Linked DNA regions of Homo sapiens: all the other regions are linked to region 3. Evidence: promoter capture Hi-C in 16 types of primary human blood cells and fetal thymus (Javierre and others, 2016). All regions are on one chromosome and are shown on one strand. Each heading gives the region's core, a stretch centred on a gene start or on the middle of the fragment in contact. The rest is flanking DNA. Distances are from core to core; before and after follow the strand shown. Region 1 overlaps WNK1 (WNK lysine deficient protein kinase 1). Region 2 overlaps WNK1 (WNK lysine deficient protein kinase 1). Region 3 holds the start of NINJ2-AS1 (NINJ2 antisense RNA 1).

What was found. Contacts are between HindIII fragments. The CHiCAGO score rates a contact against its expected background, and 5 or more counts as called.
Region 1: a contact is called between a fragment that was not itself captured here and the fragment with the promoter of NINJ2-AS1 in region 3, in 2 of 17 cell types (total CD8 T cells and total B cells). The highest score is 5.6, in total CD8 T cells.
Region 2: a fragment that was not itself captured here is called in contact with the fragment with the promoter of NINJ2-AS1 in region 3 in 2 of 17 cell types (activated CD4 T cells and naive CD4 T cells); the score reaches 5.3 in activated CD4 T cells.

What each region holds. Positions count from the first base shown.
Region 1 is chr12:812,159-815,405 of GRCh38, reverse strand. WNK1 (WNK lysine deficient protein kinase 1) reads right to left here. Exons shown (of 28, transcript NM_018979.4): 2 at 1,592-1,764. Among named protein-coding and RNA genes, the nearest start is that of WNK1, 61 kb to the right of the region's middle. The HindIII fragment of the contact is 2,974 bases long and covers 308-3,247 here.
Region 2 is chr12:787,089-789,986 of GRCh38, reverse strand. All of the region lies in intron 1 of WNK1 (WNK lysine deficient protein kinase 1), which reads right to left. Among named protein-coding and RNA genes, the nearest start is that of WNK1, 36 kb to the right of the region's middle. The HindIII fragment of the contact is 1,767 bases long and covers 686-2,452 here.
Region 3 is chr12:629,241-632,442 of GRCh38, reverse strand. It overlaps NINJ2-AS1 (NINJ2 antisense RNA 1), which reads right to left and starts at 1,552. Exons shown (of 5, transcript NR_122124.1): 1 at 1,458-1,552; 2 at 196-229. The region is part of intron 1 of NINJ2 (ninjurin 2); the gene reads left to right. RefSeq lists silencers at 1,527-1,626, 1,687-1,766. The HindIII fragment of the contact is 3,290 bases long and covers 1-2,939 here.

The DNA of each region.
Region 1 (3,247 bases), core at 545-3,044, 180 kb before region 3:
CATGCAAGTGACTATATCCAGGTGCTGTAACACTGTATTCCAATGATCTGGAATTAATCAGCTCAGCAGTATTAACTTTAACAATTAATAAAGAATATATGCCACAGTGATAATTTAAAAATATCCAATTTCACCAAATAAAAAATTTATACAAGGTAACTTACTACAGGTTCTTCTCTGAGTAAAAACAGATCCTCTAAGATACCAGGGGTCCCCAACCACTGAGCCACAGATCAATATCAGTCCATGGCCTTTTAGGAACCTGGCCACACAGCAGGAGGTGAGTGGCAGGCGAGCAAGCAAAGCTTCATCTGTATTTACAGCCGCTCCCTCACTGCTCGCATTACCACCTGAGCTCTGGCTCCTGTCAGCAGCATTAGATTTCTCACAGGGCCATGAACCCTACTGTGAACTGTGCATGCAAGGGATCTAGGTTGAGCGTTCGTTATGAGAATCTAATGCCTGATGATCTGCCCTGTCTCCCATCACCCCCAGATGGGACAGTTGAGTTGCAGGAAAACAAGCTCAGGGCTCCCACTGATTCTACATTATGGTGAGTTGTATAACTATTTCATTATATATTTTAATGTAATAATAATAGAAATAGAGTGCACAATAAATGTAATGTGCTTGAATCATTCCAAACTTCCCCAGCCCCACCCCCGCACCAGTTCATGGAAAAACTGTCTTCCATGAAACCAATCCCTGATGCCAAAAAGGTTGGGGACTGCTGCTCTAAGAAACCTGGGATTACAAAGGCATACTCCAACACTTACCAAAAGCTCTTTACAATAAGTAACGGGAAATTTCTGCATTAAACCTATTTCTGTGAAAGGAATGATAGATCTAGCTATTTGGGGATTAATTTCTGATGTTATGGGAAATGGAACTAAAAGTATTTTTTAAGTGATAACTGTCACAATATAATCTGCATCTGATATAAAAGTTGCAGGGATATAGCAAAGCACAATACAAATGAAAAAAATAGGTAGTTTCTCAATAAACCTTAATCTCATTTTAACCACTAGAGGGCTACCTTGACATTTGATTTCTGATTCCTTAGCCACTCTTTTTTTTTTTTTTTGGAGACAGAGTCTCACCTAGGCTGGAATGAAGTGAGGTGATCTCAGCTCACTGCAACCTCCGCCTCCTAGGTTCAAGCGATTCTCCTGCCTCAGCCTCCCAAGTAGCTGGGGTTACAGGTGCACGCCACCATGCCCGGCTAATTTTTGTACTTTTAGTAGAGACGGGGTTTCACCACGTTGGCCAGGCTGGTCTCGAACTCCTGACCTCAGGTGATCCAACCTCAGGTGATCCGCCTGCCCCGGCCTCCCAAAGTGCTGGGATTACAGGCATGAGCCACCACACTCGGCCATAACTTCTCATTTCAATACTTACCAAGAAATAATTATCAAATCACTTTATATACTAGAGGACTTTGTGGGCAAGGAAATATGCTAATACAGTAACAGTTGGAAGGACTGTTCCCTTCTTAGGCTGAACAACCAAAGTGAAACTGGTAGACCTGAAATTTAAAAAATCAAATTCTCTCATACTTCTTGGTCAGCTTTTGTAATACTGATGAACTTACGTTTTAAGTGTTCCAGACGTCATAAGTTCAGTCACCAAAACAATGCACTTCTTTCCTTTTACTGTGGATTCCCAGGAATCATAAAATCTAACAATATTGGGATGCTGAAGACCTTTTAACATTTCAGCTTCTTCTTTAAATCTCTGCCTCTCAGACTTTGTTAATTTTCGATCCTAAAATCAAAAACCAAAACAGAATGTGGTTTAAAATGATAAAACACCAAATCAGACAGTTAATCTTAGACACTTAAACATTACTAAATCATGATCGATGGTGTTTAAAAAATGCAAATGCTGAAGTTATAAATGATAGATTTGGATTATATACATTCATGCTTGAGATCATTTTAGTATCTTTACTGTTAATGTGTAACTCAGATATAGTCTCATTTTTGTAAGGTGCAGTTAACTTTCCATATCCAACATAAGTCATCAATTGCTAGACATGCAATTTAATGTCAGGAAATGAACATAGGCTTTGGAGGCAAAGACCTAAATATAAATTCCAGTTCTATCTTTGCCTTGATTAAAATCAATCTATCTTTAACCAAAACATTGTTTTTATTTTTGTTTGTTTGTTTAAAAGACAGGAAGTCACTCTGTGACCAAGGCTGGAATGCAGCGGTGCTATCATAGCTCACTGCAGCCTCAAATCCTGGGCTCAAGGGATCCTCCCACCTCAGCCTCCAGAGTAGCTAGGACTACAGGCATGTGCCACCTTGCCCGGCTAATTTTTTAATTTTTTGTAGAGATGAGGTCTTGCTATGATGCACTGGCTGGTCTTGAACTTCTGGTGATCCTCCTACTTTGGCATCCCAAAGCCTGGGATTACAGGTGTGAGCCACTGCATGAAGCCTAATTTTTTTTTTCTTTTAAGCAATAACTTAAATACTCAAGTATTTGTCTTCAAGTCAGGAAAATTCTCAGTATCTCTCTAAACACTGTCTCCTCTCATTCTCTTTTTTTCCCCTTCCAACTCTTCTTTTCTTTTTAAACAATTTTTAAATGTGTGTGAGTATGTGTATAACTTTAGTTTATCCTTAATATCCTTTAATTTCTCTCTCATTTTCCATTTCCTTCTGTATGCTACTTTCTGGGCAATGTTTTCTGATCTACCTTCCTGTTCATTAATTTTTCTCTTCAGTTATTACATCAATTATTAATTGAACTTTAAGGTTCTCACTCTGTCGCCAAAAGTACCCAATAAGGAATGTAATAAAAGGAAACCAAGTTACTACTCCTGTTTCTACTCTGCCCAATAGCATTAAAACCAATGGATACTATGTACATGCCTCTTACATAACACTTAATCACAGGCAACATTATATTGACTCTTATCCCCCATAGAATAAGCCCTCAGAGGCTTTTTGTCATGAAAAGGCAGTGACAAGATACCTTTTTGTGTTCTATCTTTAGCACCTGACAACCTAGCATAGTGACTTGTTCAACAGCCATTTGTTGAATGAATTCCATAAATGTCTTTTCCCCTCAATACCCCTTTAAAAGTGTGTGTGTGTGTCCTTAATAAGCAGTTAGCATTTCCCCAAGGATAAAAAATTCCTGTGACTTAAAAGAAAAATGAGAATTGAAATTGGGCCTCTGAGTCTCAGTTAAGTCCAACACAACCCATACAGAATGATCAACTTGCAAAGGTCCC
Region 2 (2,898 bases), core at 320-2,819, 160 kb before region 3:
CATGGAAGTTCCATTTTCAGTATTTGATCTAGACAAAGCCATGTGACCCACAACTCTGACCAGTAAGATATGAAGCATTGTTAAAGAAATTGCTGCTTCTGCTGCTGAATGCTATCCAGGATGCATGTGATGGCTGAAAATAGGGCCATAAGGGGCATTAGCCTGAAATACATGCTGAGAATGGCAGAGAGACATTTGATGACATAACTGAATCAATCTGACACTGCCTTACCATCTATGAAATATTATAAAAACATCCTGAAAACTCTATGCTTTCAGAAGTTCTTTAAAAAACTTAGCCTGGCGTTTGGTGGCATACACCTGTAGTCTCAGCTACTCAGTGGGAGGACTGCTTGAGCCCAGGAGTTTGAGGCTGCAGTGAGTATTGAATCACTGCATTCCAGTCTGAGTGACAGAGCGAGACTCTGTCTCAAAAAAAAAAAAAAAAAAAAGGAGTATAACCACACAGTTTCTACTAGGACACTGAACAGAGAACAAAGGACTAATAATACAGGTATACAGGTAGAACTGGGGACAAAATCTAAATTTTATGACTAGCAGTGTGTACCATTTATTAGTATACTACCATACTATGCTAAGTAAAAGTTATTCTTTCATTTTAACAGCAAAGAATTCTGTCTTTTACTTTATTCTTATCTACCTATACATAGTACACTGTTAAGCTTCTCACTGAAGCACTAGAATGGAAAATCATTGGGGTTTTGTACTTCAGACTGTAACTTTTACCAAATGTATGATTCTTTATCATAAATCAGGAGCCCTGTTTGGTGCCATCAACAAACAACTACTTTCTCTGAAAATTATGGGCTAAGAATCTTACCTCTCCACTTCCCAATCTGTATCTGTTCTAGTTTCTACCCTTTCCTCTACTCCTGATTTCACCAACAAAGATGTAATGTAGCCTCAGTATGTCCTTTCATTATTATGCCTTAATTGAAGGAAGCATGTGGCCTTCACATTTGAGAACCAACTAATAAACCTTCCCACAAAAACTGTTATAAGCAAAGGTTAAAGTCTAAACTATTAATATTACTGGCACCAAACAGATGTTTGCTCACTTACCTTTCTTTTTCCCCCCCGAGACAGAGTCTTGCTCTGTCACCCAGACTGGAGTGTAGTGGCACGATCTCGGCTCACTGCAACCTCCGCCTCCTGGGTTCAAGCAATTCTCCTCCCTCAGCCTCCTGGGTAGCTGGGATTACAGGCAACTGCCACCACGCCCGGCTAATTTTTATATTCTTAGTAGAGACGGGGTTTCACCATTTTGGCCAGGCTTGTCTCAAACACCTGACTTTGTGATCCACTTGCCTCGGCCTCCCAAAGTGCTAGGATTACAGGCGTGAGCCACCTCACCCGGTCCTCTCACTTTCATTTTTAAATATATTTTTCATATGTAACATATTTCAGATATACTGTCTGGGTATCAGCTTTTGCTGGTTATTCTGGGAACAATCATTTCCGGTACTGGCATTACAGGCCTTTCTCACTTAAGTCAACAAACAACTCACAAACTTTTAGAAATATGGTCCATTAGTGCATAAGTTGATCTCATGTTAGCAGAGTATAACTATGAATTATTATTTTACTAAAAATATGGACAATGTTTAATTTCCATATAGTATTACACACAGTAGCTTTTTTTTTAATTTCAAGAAGCTGATATGAAGGACAATCTATTGTGAAATAATATACTCATCTGTGATGGTTAGTTTTATGTTACAATTTTGCCACAGTATTCAATTATTCTATCAAATACTAACTAGGTGTTGCTATAAAGGTATTTTTGTAGATATGGTTAAACCTACAATCAGCTGACTTTATGTAAAGGAGACTACCCTCAATTATGTGGTTGGGTCTCATCTAATCACTTACAAGGCAGTAAACTGGGATTTCCTGAGAAATCCTGGCTAAAGGTGCAGCATCAGCTCCTGTGCTAGAGTTCCCAACCCAATGGCCAGCTCAACCAGAAGACAGATTTCAGACTTGCCAGCCCCAACAACCAAGTAAACTAATTCCTTGAAATTACATATAATATCTATCTGTTATATACAAAATCTCCTAATGGTTTTGTTGCCTTGGAGAAACCTGATACCATTTTTCACACTAAAATTACACACACACGCACACACACACAATGTAAAGCATCCACATATCCATGACAACATCTAAGTTTTTAACATTTTTTTGTTGTGCCTGTCCTGAGATGGTCAAAGAGTGGAAATGCACAGAGGTCCTCAGCCCAGCAGAAGACAGATGGTCTTTACAACAGAGCAGCCTACATACATTAAAGTGTGTAAGAATAAGGAAAACCGACTTACACAAAAGATAAAGATTTTTTTTAAACACACAGAAAGCTAATATAGGTTAAGAACCAGGCAAGCATTAAACACAGGAACCCACAAGAACTACGCTAATAATGTAGTTTCAAGCTTTTGTTAATAACTGACACCTAATAATAGCTAACATTTATTGACTTCCAGACCCTGTTCTGGTGCTTTACATATATTAACATATTTAAACTCAACAACACCTCTGTGAAGTAGGTACCTACGTGGGCTTGGTGGCTCACGCCTGAAATCCTAGCACTTTGGGAGGCTGAGGCAGGAGGATCACTTGAGCCCAGAGTTTCAGATCAGCAACAGTGAGACCCCATCTCTACTTTAACCAAAAAAGAAATGGATGCACAAGAGGATTACAATAAAAAAGTGGCAAAGCCAAGCCAAGGTGTAAACAGAAGCTGCCTTGTTCTAGAGTCTGTGCTTTGCCATTCCACAATACCACCTATAAAAGTAGAGAAATAATTTTATTTTTATAAAGTAGATTTATAGTCTAATATGTAGGTGTTTTAAAAATTAACAATGAAAAATACATAATTTC
Region 3 (3,202 bases), core at 303-2,802:
GAATGGAGCCGTTAGGCTGATTTCCCTGTGGTCAGAGGCTAGCTGCAATTTTACCCTCCCTTCCCTGCCCAAACACTCCTGACACTGGAATTTCATCAAACGGCTACCGTGTTTGGTTTTCAACCAGGACAAACAAAGAAAAGAGATTTGTTTTCCTGTCTGCTTTTGCTGAATGGAATCTCTGATTCTACTTACCAGCGTGCCTCAGACACCCTGGGGCTGGTTAGGACTTTAAGCACACAGGAATCTCAGCTTTACTCAATCTTTTTCCATATCCTGAGCCCGAGTTCAGACTTCATCCTCCCGGGTCCCCCATGTCCCTTCAACGTCTGATTAATTCTCCAGTCAACTCCCTGCTAATAGTCCACCCACAAATTGCTATTTCAGCTGACCTTCCCCAAAACTTGAGCATCCTTACCAAATACCTTGGGCTTCCTCATAACCTGGTTATCTTCTCATCTGCATGCCTTTCTGGAATAATTTTGAAGTATTAAAAAAAACTCCTCTAATTGTCAAGGGCATGCAGGAAGCTCAGCCCCTAAGGAGCATTGCAGAAATCTGGAGTTCTACTCTGTTTATACCTAAATCTAGCCTTCCAGGAGTTTCAGATAGTTTCCTGGAAACATTTTGTGCTTTGTGTTTTTCACCTTTCTCTCTTAATTGAATATGGGGTGAGGAGCAAGAAAGGGGATTGTGAATTACAATTACAAACAGTACACACATAACACAGGGACAATCTTTGCATTTCTCATTTCTGATCCCAGGGATCAGAGGTAGAGGCAGGCCAGGCGCGGTGGCTCACGCCTGTAATCCCAGCACTTTGGAGGCCGAGGCAGGCGGATCACGAGGTCAAGAGATAGAAACCATCCTGGCCAACATGGTGAAACCCCGTCTGTACTAAAAATATAAAAATTAGCTGGGCGTGGTGGCGCGCGCCTGTACTCCCAGCTACTCGGGAGGCTGAGGCAGCAGAATCGCTTGAGCCCGGGAGGCGGAGGTTGCATTGAGCAGAGATCACGCCACTGCACTCCCGCCTGGTGACAGAGGGAGACTCCGTCTCAAAATAAATAAATAAATAAATAAAAATTTAACAAAAAAAGGTAGAGGCAGCTCTCAGGTGAGTAAATTCGCAGATGCCCACGCATGTCTGGAACATACCCCAGGGGTCATTAGAGACTGCCCAGCAGAGGCGGGAGGATCTTCCGTTTGCTTTTCCTTCAGAACGTTTGTCCGGAGAGCATCCTGTTCTGTTATATGCATATCCACCTCCGTCTCCAAATTACTAGGTTGAGCACAGTGCTCAGTGCCTGGCATTGAGTTAGAAATAGAAAATGAGCTGGCGAGTCCCGGCCCGAGGCTGTGACAGGGGCCATTACTGAGCCCACTCCCCACCAACCTTTCTGCGGTTTAACTGACTCTCCTCCTTCCCCTCCAGATCCCAAGGGCTTGACTCCTACCTCCTCTAAGGCATTTTGAAAAGTTTGCAAATGCACCCTTGATCCTAGCACGTACTTAAGAAGCGGCTCCCCCCTAGAACGTCAGGCTTGAAGCTGACCCCTTCTTCCTCCTCCCGCGCCATTTGGGTCTGTGCGCAGGGCCGGAAGCCTGCTGGGGAGGGGCACGAGGCCGGGCTGGGGCCTCTCCGGAGGGAGCCCGCCGCCCCGCCCAGGGCGCACGCACCCAGCCTCTGAGGGAGGAAGCTGAATGGGGCCAGAGGCTGGCCCTCTTTGGGGATTTGCATTATACAGGCTGTATTTAGAAGCAGCGGCGGGGAGCGGTGGCTCACGCCTGTGATCCCAGCATTTTGGGGGGCCGAGGCGGGCAGATCACCTGAGGCCAGGAGTTCGAGACCAGCCTGTCAACATGGTGAAACTCCGTCTGTGCTAAAAATACAAAAAAAATTAGCCAGGCGTGGTGGCCGGAGCCTGCAGTCCCAGCTACTCGGGAGGCTGAGGCAGGAGAATCGCTTGAACCCGGGAGATGGAGCTTGCAGTGAGCCGAGATCACACCACTGCACTCCAGCCTGGGCAACTCAGCGAGACTCCGTCTCAAAAAACAAAACAAAACAAAACAAAACAAAAAACCAAGAAAAAGAGAATAAAAAAAAATAGAAGCAGCTTTCTTGCTGATAGAAAGCAATGACCCTCTCTGCTATAATTACAACTGAAGAGTCACTTTCTTTCAAAAACTCTATTTTCAGATGTTTACCACTTTCTTTAAAAAGGAAAAAAAATTTGCCTCAAAGGCAGGCAGTCCCCAGGGCATTTCTGGTCTCCTGGGGAAGGAACCTAAGAGCGGTTTGGTAAAATTCCATTTTGCTATCTTGGCGTTACCTAAGGGCAAGAACTGAGGTGGGGCTTTGGTGACAGCAGGGGCTGAAGAGTGCTCTTTTTCATCATCCAGGGTGTCCAATTGTTTTGTTTCCCTGGGCCACATTGGAAGAATTGTCTTGCCCCACACATAAAATACAGCAACACTAACAATGGCTGATACACTTTTAAAAAATCGCAAAGAAACTTCATATATATATATATATATATATATATTTTTTTTTTTTTTTTGAGTTTTGCTCTTGTCGCCGAGGCTGGAGTGCAACGGCACGATCTCGGCTCACCACAACCTCTGCCTCCCAGGTTCAAGTGATTCTCCTGCCTCAGTCTCCTGAGTAGCTGGGATTACAGGCATGCGCCACCAGGCCTGGTTAATTTTGCATTTTTAGTAGAGACGAGGTTTCTCCATGTTGGTCAGGCTGGTCTCAAACTCCTGACCTCAGGTGATCCACCTGCCTCGGCCTCCCAAAGTGCTGGGATTACAGGCGTGAGCCACCATGCCCAACCAAGAACTCATAATGTTTTAAGACAATTTACGAATTTGTTTTGGGCCGCGTTCAAAGCCGTCCTGGGCTGCACGGGGCCCACAGGCTGTGGGTTGGACAAGCTTGCTGGACTGTCATGAAGTTTTGAGTAGGTTAATTGCGTGGAGAGACCTGGAAGACAGGATCCTGGGTTGTACTGTACTCTCCCCGCCATTGGACCTGTGCTCCCTCCACCCAGGTGGCATCGCAGTGGCCAATGGAGAACAGAGCCAGACTGCCTCGGTGCAAATCCCAGGCTCCTAGTCCTGTGGACCACTTACTCCTTCGGTGAACTTGGGAAGCTGTTCATCCTTCCGGCTTCAGTTTTCCCACATGTAAAATGAAGAT